3 separate regions of the Homo sapiens genome follow, and all the other regions are linked to region 3. The links are contacts of gene promoters, found by promoter capture Hi-C in blood cells and fetal thymus (Javierre and others, 2016). All regions are on one chromosome and are shown on one strand. Each heading gives the region's core, a stretch centred on a gene start or on the middle of the fragment in contact. The rest is flanking DNA. Distances are from core to core; before and after follow the strand shown.

Region 1 (3,941 bases), core at 1,288-3,787, 260 kb before region 3:
AGTGCAGTTGCCCGATCTTGGCTCACGGCAAGCTCCACCTCCCGGCTTCATGGCATTCTCCTGCCGCAGTCTCCCGAGTAGCTGGGACTACAGGTGCCCGCCACCACACCCGGCTAATTTTTTTCAATTTTCAGTAGAGACGGGGTTTCACCGTGTTAGCCAGGATGGTCTCGATCTCCTGACCTCGTGATCCGCCCGCCTCGGCCTCCCAAAGTGCTGGGATTACAGGCGTGAGCCGGCGTGAGCCACCGCGCCCGGCCAAGAGAAAAACATTCACATTTAATATGAAGTTTTACATGACATAAGGAAATAAGGACCTGAAGAAGGGCTTAAACCTGAGTGTGTTTGCACTAGGTTTGATGAAGAGAGTCATGCAGAAATATAACAAGACAAAAATAATATGAGCTAAGGATAATAAACAAGGAGAAATCTAGCAAGGTTTATTTGTTCAGATTCCTCGCATACTCTGCAAGACTCCCAGGAGGGTCTTAAGACCTGCTTCAGAGGAAGGTCATACGAACATTCTTGTCTATGTTGTTCTACTAATGTCTTAGAATATTTACTATGTCAAGGCGCCATACTTTGGAGTACTATGTTGTCAGAAACCTGAGGTTGCTCATGGAGTACTATGGAGTAGTGACCTTTTTTTTTTTTTTGGTCCCATTTTAGAAATTTGATTAATGAGTATAAACTAATGGTTTCTATGTTTGAGACGGAGTTTCGTTCTTGTTGTCCAGGCTGGAATGAAATGGCGGGATCTTGGCTCACTGCAACCCCCGCCTCCCGGTTTCAAGCGTTTCTCCTGCCTCAGTCTCCGAAGTAGCTGGGGTAACATAGGCATGCGCCACCACGCCCGGCTAATTTTGTTATTTTTAGTAGATACGGGGTTTCACCATGTGGGTCAGGCTGTTTTTGAACTCCTGACCTCAAGTGATCCACCAGCCTCGCCTCCCAAAATGCTGGGATTACAGGCGAGAGCCACTGCGCCCAGCCAGCCAAAACTGTAATTTTTTTTTTTTTTTTTTTTTTTTTTTTTTTATGAGATGGAATCTAGCTCTTTCGCCCAGGATGGAGTGCAGTGGCGCGATCTCTGATCACTGCAACCTCCGCCTCCCGGGTTCAAGTGACTCTCCAGCCTCAGCTTCCAGAGTAGCTGAAACTACAGGTGAGTGCCACCACGCCCGGCTAATTTTGTTTGTATTTTTTTAGTAGAGACAGGGTTTCACAGTGTTAGCCAGGATGGTCTCGACCTCCTGACCTCGTGATCCGCCCGTCTCGGCCTCCCAAAGTGATGGGATTAGAGGCGTGAGCCACCGCGCACGGCGGAAAACGAGATTTTTTAGATCAACTTTACATTGCCAATGCCCATGGTATTCCCTCCACAACAAACTCCACAAGAGTGCTCAGAAAAGTCAAACTTGTTATCAGGTGATCTTTAGGGACCCAAAGACTACTCTTCCTACCCTTTCCAGTGTTGCCCAGGCTGGAATTGCACTAGCGTATTCACATGTTCCTGCAGTCTCTAGCCCGAGAGTTTAAGCTATCCTACCACCTCAGCCTACCGAGTAAATGATAGTACAGACGCAAGCCGTCACACCTGGTTAGCTTCATTTTTTTGCAGAGACGAGTTCTATGTTGCCCAGGCAAATCTGTTAACTCCTGAGCTGAAGAAAGCCTCATGCATCGACCTCCCAAAGTGCTAGGATTACAGGATCTTGCCAACACAGAACAGGAGTATCTCCTGATCAATTTTTTTTGAGACGAAGCCTCGCCTTTGTCGCCCAGGCTAGAATGCAAAAGCGCCATGTCTTTTCACTGCAACCTTTGCTTGCTGGGTTTAAGTGATTCTCCTGCGGCAGCCTCCCGAGTCTCTGGGATGACACGCGACTGCCCCACGCCCGGCTAATATTTGTATTTTTAGTAGAAACGAGATTTAACCACGTTAGCCAAACTGGTCTCGATCCGCACGCCTCGGCCTCCCAAAGTGCTGGGATTACAAAATCGGAAAAATTATTCCCTAGAAAACGGTGAAATTCAATATTAAAGCTCTTTATGTGAGACTTGAGTGGCTCTGAAAAGAGCCTTTGAGTTTTAAAGCACCTAAGCACACATTTACTTGGAGCTTGTATACTTGGTGACAGCCTTGGTACCTTCGGACACTGCGTGCTTGGCCAGCTCTCCGGGAAGCAGCAGACGCACGGCGGTCTGGATCTCCCTGGAGGTAATGGTCGAGCGCTTGTTGTAGTGGGCCAGACGGGAAGCCTCGCCTGCGATGCGTTCGAAGATGTCGTTAACGAAGGAATTCATGATGCCCATGGCCTTGGATGAGATGCCAGTATCGGGGTGAACCTGTTTTAGCACCTTGTACACATACACGGAGTAGCTCTCCTTACGACTGCGCTTGCGCTTCTTGCCATCCTTCTTCTGCGCCTTGGTCACAGCCTTCTTGGAACCCTTCTTCGGAGCAGGAGCTGACTTAGCTGGTTCAGGCATGCTGTCAGAAAACAATAACAGCAGTGAGAATGAACGCACTTAAATAAAAGCTCGTGTCTAGAGTCTCTCCTTTTATAGGCCTTTCATGCAAATAAAGAATTCAAAATATCCAGCTCTGATTGGGCAATGTGTTAGTGACGCATACATGTAAAATAGCCTTCACCTTATTTCCTTTCTAATTGGTTGGCTCGTCAAAGAACAATTTTAACCAATCAAATTGCGCCTTTCACAATTCTACCGATGACTATAACTAGCTTCTTATTCCTCCATCGAGCCCATTCTTTTTCTTTATTCAGTGGATTGTTAGTTCTTCTGCTGTTAGGAAGCCACTATGTCTGGACGTGGAAAGCAAGGCGGCAAAGCTCGGGCAAAAGCTAAAACGCGTTCTTCCAGGGCCGGTCTTCAGTTTCCAGTTGGCCGTGTGCACCGCCTCCTCCGCAAAGGCAACTACTCCGAACGAGTCGGGGCCGGCGCTCCAGTGTACCTGGCAGCGGTGCTGGAATATCTGACGGCCGAGATCTTAGAGCTAGCTGGCAACGCGGCTCGCGACAATAAGAAGACCCGCATCATCCCGCGCCACCTGCAGCTAGCCATCCGCAACGACGAGGAGCTAAATAAGCTTCTAGGTCGCGTGACCATCGCGCAGGGCGGTGTCCTGCCCAACATCCAGGCCGTATTGCTGCCTAAGAAGACGGAGAGCCACCATAAGGCCAAGGGCAAGTGAAATGATTACTAGTCAAATCCGTCAGTGATCCCGAGTCCCAGAAACCAAAGGCTCTTTTCAGAGCCACCCACCTTTTCTGTAAAGTGCTGGAATACACATACGATGCCTGAAATCTCAATGTTCACTGTCCTAATTTTTAACGAACGCTTCTGACGTTACTGGTCAGTTCTTTATTGAAATCCTTGCTCACATTTCATGCACTAATTTATCTTACTGGTGTTTCTTTGCAGTAAAAATGCGTTTATAAAGGTATACAAGAATAGAAACCGAGGTTGTGACACCAAGGTTTCACTGCGTTATTTTGTGTATAGGTCCATGCTGTGTATACAAATTTATCATTAATACACAGGCTGTTTATTCATGTGCACTTGTCAGAAAAGGGTGAAATATTAATACAGAAACGAGAGAACAAAGAAGGATAGCTGCCCATTAGCATTTCAGGGCGGGCTTTTTAAGTTTTAAAGATGACTGCATTCCGGCTGGGCTCAGTGGCTCATGCCTGTAATCCCAACACTTTGGGAGGCCAAGGAGGGCGGATCATAGGGTCAGGAGTTCGAAATCAGCCTGCCCAACATAATGAAAGCCCGTCTCTACTAAACAAATACAAAAAGTAGCCGGGCGTGGTGGTGTGCATCTGTAGTCCCAGCAACTTGGGAGGCTGAGGCAGGAGAATCGCTTGACTCCGGGAGGCAGAGGCTGCAGTGAGCCGAGATCACGCTATTGC
Region 2 (3,947 bases), core at 942-3,441, 440 kb before region 3:
CACAAATGAGAATTTCATCCATTCGTTAATTTTTAAATATCAACTGTCAATGAAGAGTTACAGCAGAATCCTTGTTCTGTTGAGGAGGGGGCAAAGAATGTAAGTGAGGGAGTGGAAAATAGCTGGACTGAGCTACCACCCCCTGTCCATCTGATCCTCAGACAGTAATGTAACTTTATTCTTTTATGCTATTCGTCAGACCCAGTACCTCCAACACATTTGTTTCCTACAGATAAAGAAAATATAAAAAGTCAAGCGCTATACATCAGATCCAGCACATCTATAACTGGAAAAAAAATACTTGACCTTCAGCTGGGCCCAGAGCTTGTGAGTAGTCACCTTGGCATAGACCAAGTCCATTGGCATCTCTAACATATCTATACTGTCTGTGGATAACAAATGTCTATGCCAGTTAGAGTCGCTTGTATAAGAGTCAAGAAAAACGAATCATAAAACAAACTGACATATTCATTTTCATAATTTTTAAAATGCAAATATTACTTTATAAACCAAAAACTGCCTTATTAAAAGCTGGAACACAAATGAATTTAAGTAAACGATGCAATTCAAATTTAATCTTTTGTGTGTGTGATTTGTTGTTGTTGACAGTTGGTCAGGCGATTTTAGTATGGTACATCAGTTTACATTCTAGATGTAGGCCAAGAAAGAATGTTAGGTGTAAAAAATATTTATTGTAAAAAAGAATGTGAGGCAAGGTCTTTGGAATTAGTAGTTTTAATGTTGGACATTCTGTGGTTGTTCTAAAGTTAGTCTGTAAAATGTGATGTAAAAGCTATATGATAAAAAAATACAAAATATAAAAATTTTAAAGTAAATATTACTTTTGTTTGCGTACAGTATTCCCATCCCTCTAAATTTTCTTCCAGTACTCAATCCCCAACCTCCAAAACCGAAAAGCAAGATCAACAGAAAGAAAATGGTTAAAACTTGTAAATTCTAGATTTTAATAACTACAGGCAAGAAGTACTGAAAAAAAGAATGTGGCATGTCATGGTGCATAGTCCTAGAGGAGACAAAGCAATGCAACCAGATAGACTATTTACAAGCAAAGCCACACATATAAAAATTCATATATAAGGGATTAAATTATGCTTGGTCGACAGACTGACAGATTTAAAGTGGGTAGCTAGCTATGGATAAAATGAGAGCCAGTTAGATCCCTGCCTCACATTTTGCACCAGAATAAATTTCAGGTTAATGTTAACAGCCAAATGAATTTAACAGTATATATATATATATATATATATATAATATATGAGAAAACCTAGGGGACTATGTATTGAGCTGAGAAAATCTTCCTAAGCATTTTGAGGAAGACACTGGAACTCGCAAGACACAATTTTCTAATCTTTTCAAAGCTTTGCAAAAATGCCTAGTAAGCGCCAGTTAACTACTTACCAGATTTTTCCCTTACTCTTACAAAGTTGTTTAAACAAATGCTAATCATAGCAAGCTAGAGGCCTGAATGATAGTGGACTTACACAGCTTCTCTCCAAATAGCACCTTAATAAGGTCAGAAATAACCTACACTGCAAGACTGACCAAACCGTTATTTCTGTTAATCAACTTTAAGACCATAGTCTAATGCTTTCCGGGGGGGTCCTTAGAAATTTGTTCTGTTAAGACAACAAAAAATTATCACAGCTACTTTCGTTGGAATAAGTGGGTGGCTCTGAAAAGAGCCTTTGGGTTTTAAGACTGATGAAAAAGTGACTTTACATTTACGCTCTTTCTCCGCGAATGCGGCGAGCGAGCTGGATGTCTTTGGGCATAATAGTCACTCGCTTAGCATGGATGGCGCAAAGGTTTGTGTCCTCAAAGAGCCCTACCAAGTAGGCCTCACAAGCCTCCTGCAGCGCCATCACCGCAGAGCTCTGGAAGCGAAGATCGGTCTTGAAGTCTTGGGCGATTTCTCGCACCAGGCGCTGGAACGGCAGCTTCCGAATCAGCAACTCGGTCGACTTTTGGTAGCGGCGGATCTCGCGCAGAGCCACAGTGCCCGGGCGGTAACGGTGAGGCTTTTTCACGCCGCCGGTAGCCGGCGCGCTCTTGCGAGCAGCCTTGGTAGCCAGCTGCTTGCGTGGCGCTTTACCGCCGGTGGATTTCCGAGCTGTCTGTTTAGTACGAGCCATGGCAAAACCACAGAAAAGCTTGCCTGCAGAGACGTCTGTGGAGGAAAGGAAAGAGCTACTCTTCTTTTATAGAGTCAGACCACCAACTATTGGACCCAAGAAAATTCAAAAATCCCCGCGCCCTTCTTGGATTGGTCCATCTCTGTGCCTGGTTGCAGATTAAGAGAGGCTCCTGCCCATTACCGTAGCTACTCTGACGTCATTTTGTTAACCCCTTAGCTGCTATATCCACTGTGGACAAGTCTTGTACTGGAAAAGTTTCCTGAAGTCTTAAAATTTACAACCACACAAAGCAACGCGGAAACCTCCAATTGTTTCTAGTTAAAATATAAAAAAGAAATCAGAGAATATTGGAGACGATTAGGGAAATTTGCATATGCGCTTTATTTAAAATTGTATTTTTCTGGGTGTCGCATAAGAAGTGTGGGCAATTAGAAAAATGCTCTTAGCCGGGCGTGGCGGCTCTCGCCTGTAATCCCAGCTACTCAGAAGGCTGTCAAGAGGATCGCTTGAGCCCGAGTTCGAGGTTACAGTGAGCTGTTATCACGCCGCTGCACTGCAGCTTGGGCGAGAGGGAGACTCCACCCCAAAACAAAGCAAAACATCCCCAAACTGGAAAAAAGCTCATTTTGGGAAATACATACTCAAATGTTCAGTGGTAATGTGTGTGCTCTCAATTGTGTATGCCATTAATTGCTACAGCAAATGGTATGACATATTCAAACTTGTGTGGGGCATGCGGGTTTTAACACTTCCATTCAAGATAGTTAGGAATGCACTCATGGGTATAATTTCCTTCCTCTAAAATGTAGTAACTGCTGTGTGTGAAACTTAACGCGAATCACCCCTGTAAACATGTTTTGTGCTGCATGGCACTTCTCCCACATACCTAGAATTCCTGAGGTTTCTATGGATCTAATTTCTGCAGGACAAATTACTAAAAGTGCCACACTCAAAGCCATTAAAAACACCTCAAAAACATCTTTATGGGCGGCATAATCCAAAGCACAACAGCTCATTTAATGGAAGTCGTAGGTGGCTCTGAAAAGAGCCTTTGCTGTTAGGCTGATTTTGTCTGCTGACAGAAAAACAGCAGTGCATGAAGCGTTAACTCTTCACTTTCCCTTGGCCTTATGATGGCTCTCAGTTTTCTTAGGCAGCAGCACCGCCTGAATATTAGGCAAAACGCCACCCTGCGCGATGGTCACACGCCCCAAGAGTTTATTAAGCTCCTCGTCATTGCGGATGGCCAATTGCAGGTGGCGCGGGATGATGCGGGTCTTCTTGTTGTCGCGGGCCGCATTGCCCGCCAGCTCCAGGATCTCGGCGGTCAGGTACTCAAGCACCGCCGCGAGATACACCGGCGCGCCAGCCCCGACGCGCTCGGAGTAGTTGCCTTTGCGGAGCAGGCGGTGCACTCGGCCCACAGGAAACTGCAAACCTGCACGAGAAGACCGAGTCTTAGCCTTGGCGCGAGCTTTACCGCCTTGTTTGCCGCGACCAGACATAACTACTTCTGATAAGGGAAAATCGCCACAAGAAAATGTAATGAAACTACATTAGAACGCAAGGCAGAGAAGTATTTATACTGACTGGAGGTAGGCTGTGAGGAATTCTCCCATTGGCTAATGTCAAATACCCAATGGGAAATCAGAATCTGCATCCTTCATTTGCATGTAATCCTTCCGTCTGGTGTAAGGTTTATGTTTGACCCAATCCCCAGTCTGGCTTGACGAGCCTTCGACTTGAATACTAATAATAATTGGCCGAATTAGGATTTTGTCAAAATACCTT
Region 3 (3,947 bases), core at 942-3,441:
ACCCAAGCCTCGCTTGGCTAAACTGGCATGCCCCAGCTCACCTGTGTTATAGCTTATACCCACGTTCAGCAGTTCCTGAGCTCTTGTACCATGCCCAAGAAGAATGAGGATACACTAGACGTTGAAGGGTGAGGAGGGCTGAGAAGAATTTTATCAAGCGACTGAACAGCTCTCAGCAGAGAGGGGATGCTGGCACCCCTACCTGAAGGCAGGAAAGCTCCCCCTGTGTGGCTGGGTCCAGGCCTGTTTTATGGACTCAGAATGGGAAGTGTGTGCTGAATGGTTTGTGAGTATGCAAAAAAGGTTAAAGTGAAGACACCACTCAAAGATGGCCACAACAGTGTAAAAAAACAATTAGGAAAGTGTGGGTATATGGAAAGTAGTTGAAGGGTGGGGACCAATCAGAGGAAAGTGCACCAAACAGGAAGACAAGTTCTCAACAAGTTCTCAATTTGGGCTGAGGATTTACCTTGTAGTTTGGCTTTCAGGCTTTAAACTGTCTTCAGCTTGGAGGTGGGGTATCACTGGGGACCCATTGCTACCTGCCTAGGCATCTGACTGCCTCCTGTCTGCTATCACTAGGTCCCAAGGTTTGTAGCAAGGACCCCTTACAAAGACATCCCCCACAGTCTACCCAAAGGTTAACCTTAGAACATATTTCATTGTCAGAGTGAGAAACAAATACACATGAAAATACAGTATGGCACAAATAAGGAGCAAGAGGTGAAGAAAGCTTCAGTCACACCCAAAATAATTTTGTGAAAAATATAAAATATGCAGTTATAGACAGCACTAACTCTGGATACCAGAAAATTCTATAATTCGGTAATGGATCTGAGACCTGAATTTTGGAGGTACTAAAATAGATGCAATAGATCTAGTTTTCATTATGTTCATACTTTCATTTGGCTCTGTGGTAAAAGATGATAATATCCAAAACAAAAGATGATAATATCCTCCATGTAACAATTACATGCAAGGGGATGTCTGCAAACTGCCACAGTATCATTTTAATTAATACCTATCTTCTCTTCTTAAAATCTTTTCATTTTTCCACTCAGTTCTCCTGATATTTCTGTTATGATATAAAAGACAGCTGAATGTGAAGAAACACTGATTGTACACGTAACACACACATTAATGATTCAAATATGTAAACACAGAGAGCTGCAAACACTTTGAGAGGTAGGGCTGAAACTTTTCGTCAATGTGTACAATTCAATATCGTTTCAGTTTTCATTCTAACCGTCCCCAGTGGCTTCTGCCCAGCAACTGATGAGAAATGGTACCTCTGAGCCAATCAAAACACGAATTCCTACAAAGAGGATTCTCTTAGTGTTTCTCGGACCGAGTGTACAGCACATGCTTTCTTTTCCTTTATTCTGGATCAGAGAATCTTAACTAAAGCAGAAATAATTGTGTTAAATTAAACTAAATTTGGTATGAGATATGTATACATTTAGCCTGAGGGATGGCTCTTGAGCCCTTAAATAATGAACTGCAACCTAACTTAGTATGTAAACTAACTGAAAGCTTAAGGCATGGGAGTATACTTTTGTAACAAATAGCTGAGTCTCAGCCAATCCCAGTAGCCGAACTTCAGTCGGCGGCAGTCAACCCTGCAGCCAAGTGATCAGACTATGTTCAAATAAGGCCAACTCTGAGCTGTAACCAATTAAGCTGTTTCTGTGTGTCACTTCCCTTGTGGAATGGAGCTCACTGAACCTCTCTGATGGCTGCCCGATCGTTCTGATGGTTTGCAAATTGTTCTTTGTTCAAATTAAACCCTGCTAAATTTAATTTGTCTAAAGTTTTTATTAACAACAGAAAACTATTGATTACCTTTTTTTGTGGGCTATGATTTTCAGATAGGAATATTAAGGAGTAAGTGGGGAAAATTGCTTAGAGCCAGGGCTACAAGGCCTGGAAGAAAAGGGACTGAAAAGCTGAGAGGGGAACTGGCACAGAGAAAGGGGTGAGGATGGAGAGGGTAGAATGCAAAGAGTAAGGACCTGAAGAGGCTGAGATTTGGCTGAAGAGGGACAACCTGAATAGAGAAACCTTCCAACTGCATGTTCTTAGGAACTAATTACAGTCAGAAAGGAGCAAAGACTCCTTTTTTTTTTTTTTGTCAGAGTCTCACTGTTGCCCAGGCTGGAGTGCAGTGACACAATCTCGGCTCACTGCAGCATCCACCTTCCCAGCCAAGCAATTCTCTGGCCTCAGCCTCCGGAGTAGCTGGGAATACAGGCATACGCCACCACACCTGGCAAATTTTTTGTATTTTTAATAGAGACGGGGTTTCACCATGTTGGCCAGGCTGGCCGGCCAGGCTGGTACTGAACTCCTGACCTCAAGTGATCCACCCACCTTGGCCTCCCAAAGTGCTGTGATTACAGGCATGAGCCACTGCCCCCAGCCAGGAGACGAAAAGACTCCTAAAATATCTCCTGGTTATGTTTAGGAACATATTCCAAAAGGTTCTAAAAAGAGATGTGCCTTAAAGATTCATATGTATATTGTAAATTTTCAACTCCATATTTTCTAGATGTCCCCAACATCCCCACAACAGCCCGTCAACACCCTGCCCAGGTGACCAAGTACACCAGTGCAACAGGGCTGGTTCCTGCCTGCTTGCCCTTGCTTAACTGTGACCTAGTGACCTCCTCCCATCTTTTGATCTTTATTCCTCTAGTTCACTTCCTTTGTCACTATCTCTCCACCCACACCTACTTGCCTTAATCACCTTAACAGCAAAGGCTGAATTATTGTAAACAAAAGGAGTCTGTCTTTTTAGTGCATGGGTCCCCAAGTATGTATATATGAATATGCAATGAACCCCAGGATACTAAGCTTCACTTAAGGATTTTTTCCTACAAGGACTCAGCTGTCACATTTGGGGGCATTTTGTTTTGTTTTGTGAATGTTTAACCAAGCTAATGGAGGAACTATTGGTACAATGAACTCAAAAAATGTACAGGATCAGCAGGGCATAGTGGCTCACGCCTGTAATTTCAGCACTTTGAGAGGCTGAGTTGGGAGGATCACTTGAGCCCAAAAGTTCAAGATCAGACTGGGAAACATAGTGAGACTTCATCTCTAAAAAATTAAAATAAAATAAAATAAATACAAGGAAAAAAGAAAAATGTACTGGATTGAGGGGAAAAATTTATGATGCAAACAGAAGAGCATTTATGATTGAAGTGAGAGAAGGATAATGGGGGAGGATGGTGAAAGAACATCAATCTAAATTTATATTTAAATTTACATGAATCCAGTGCAGGCAGCATCTCAGGGGAGGGAGGAGTCTATTTTTCTGTTGATTTCCTGGGCTAAATTCCTGACTGACTCATTGCTGAAAGTAAATAACATATTATTATAGTTGAAAGATTTTTTTTTAGTGTAGTGATTTCAAACTGTGCTCATTTATATGCAACCCATGAACGCCTCCCTTCTCCTATGTCTCCTTTTGAGTTGTAGGGCCAGTTTGAAGCTTTATATATCATTTACCAAACTTAGGGTGGTGAGTGGGTGCTGATGGCAGCCTGGTTTGAAAATCTCCACTGGAGAGAAGACACAGCAGGATTCAGATGCAAATGACCAGAGCACTCCAAGTTGGAAAGAACTGCTGAGCGGGTCTGTAGAGCCCATCGCTCTCTCCTGTCTATTCATCAGCTAGGCTGAAGCTCCTGACAGACTCACACCAGTATCTTGCTGCTCCAGAAAGGTCGAAGATGGCAGTTTTCCCAAACTCCGGCTTGCCCAGATGTCTGCTCACCCTCATTCTTCTCCAGCTGCCCAAGCTGGTTTCAGATAGGTCTCTCTCTCTGGCCTGCAGAGTTAAAACATCTCAATAAATATAAAGTATAAAAAGAAGCTGGAGCCCAACCACTTCGGCACATGTTCACAGGATCTCGGGGCTGTGTCACAAGCCACTGGGCACTCAT

Evidence for each region. The method cuts DNA at HindIII sites, captures the fragments that hold promoters and counts their contacts. A CHiCAGO score of 5 or more calls a contact.
Region 1: the fragment with the promoter of H2BC8 here is called in contact with a fragment that was not itself captured in region 3 in 1 of 17 cell types (M0 macrophages); the score reaches 5.3 in M0 macrophages.
Region 2: a contact is called between the fragment with the promoter of H3C2 here and a fragment that was not itself captured in region 3, in 1 of 17 cell types (naive CD4 T cells). The highest score is 5.4, in naive CD4 T cells.

Annotation. Positions count from the first base shown.
Region 1 is chr6:26,214,151-26,218,091 of GRCh38, forward strand. H2BC8 (H2B clustered histone 8) reads right to left here and starts at 2,538. Exons shown (of 1, transcript NM_003518.4): 1 at 2,050-2,538. The coding sequence starts at 2,493. The coding sequence ends at 2,113. It overlaps H2AC8 (H2A clustered histone 8), which reads left to right and starts at 2,771. Exons shown (of 1, transcript NM_021052.4): 1 at 2,771-3,287. The coding sequence starts at 2,825. The coding sequence ends at 3,217. RefSeq lists enhancers at 1,652-1,781, 1,832-1,921, 2,002-2,351, 2,263-2,914, 2,782-3,201 and 2 more. The HindIII fragment of the contact is 5,797 bases long and covers 1-3,110 here.
Region 2 is chr6:26,029,908-26,033,854 of GRCh38, forward strand. It overlaps H3C2 (H3 clustered histone 2), which reads right to left and starts at 2,192. Exons shown (of 1, transcript NM_003537.4): 1 at 1,682-2,192. The coding sequence starts at 2,153. The coding sequence ends at 1,743. H2AC4 (H2A clustered histone 4) reads right to left here and starts at 3,711. Exons shown (of 1, transcript NM_003513.3): 1 at 3,185-3,711. The coding sequence starts at 3,661. The coding sequence ends at 3,269. RefSeq lists enhancers at 1,829-2,058, 2,099-2,218, 3,156-3,785 and a silencer at 3,569-3,668. The HindIII fragment of the contact is 2,287 bases long and covers 2,170-3,947 here.
Region 3 is chr6:26,472,642-26,476,588 of GRCh38, forward strand. LOC285819 (a long non-coding RNA gene) reads right to left here. Exons shown (of 4, transcript NR_038992.1): 3 at 3,511-3,947. It also overlaps a transcript of BTN2A1 not described here. Among named protein-coding and RNA genes, the nearest start is that of BTN2A1, 17 kb to the left of the region's middle. RefSeq lists an enhancer at 1,194-1,243. The HindIII fragment of the contact is 1,320 bases long and covers 1,532-2,851 here.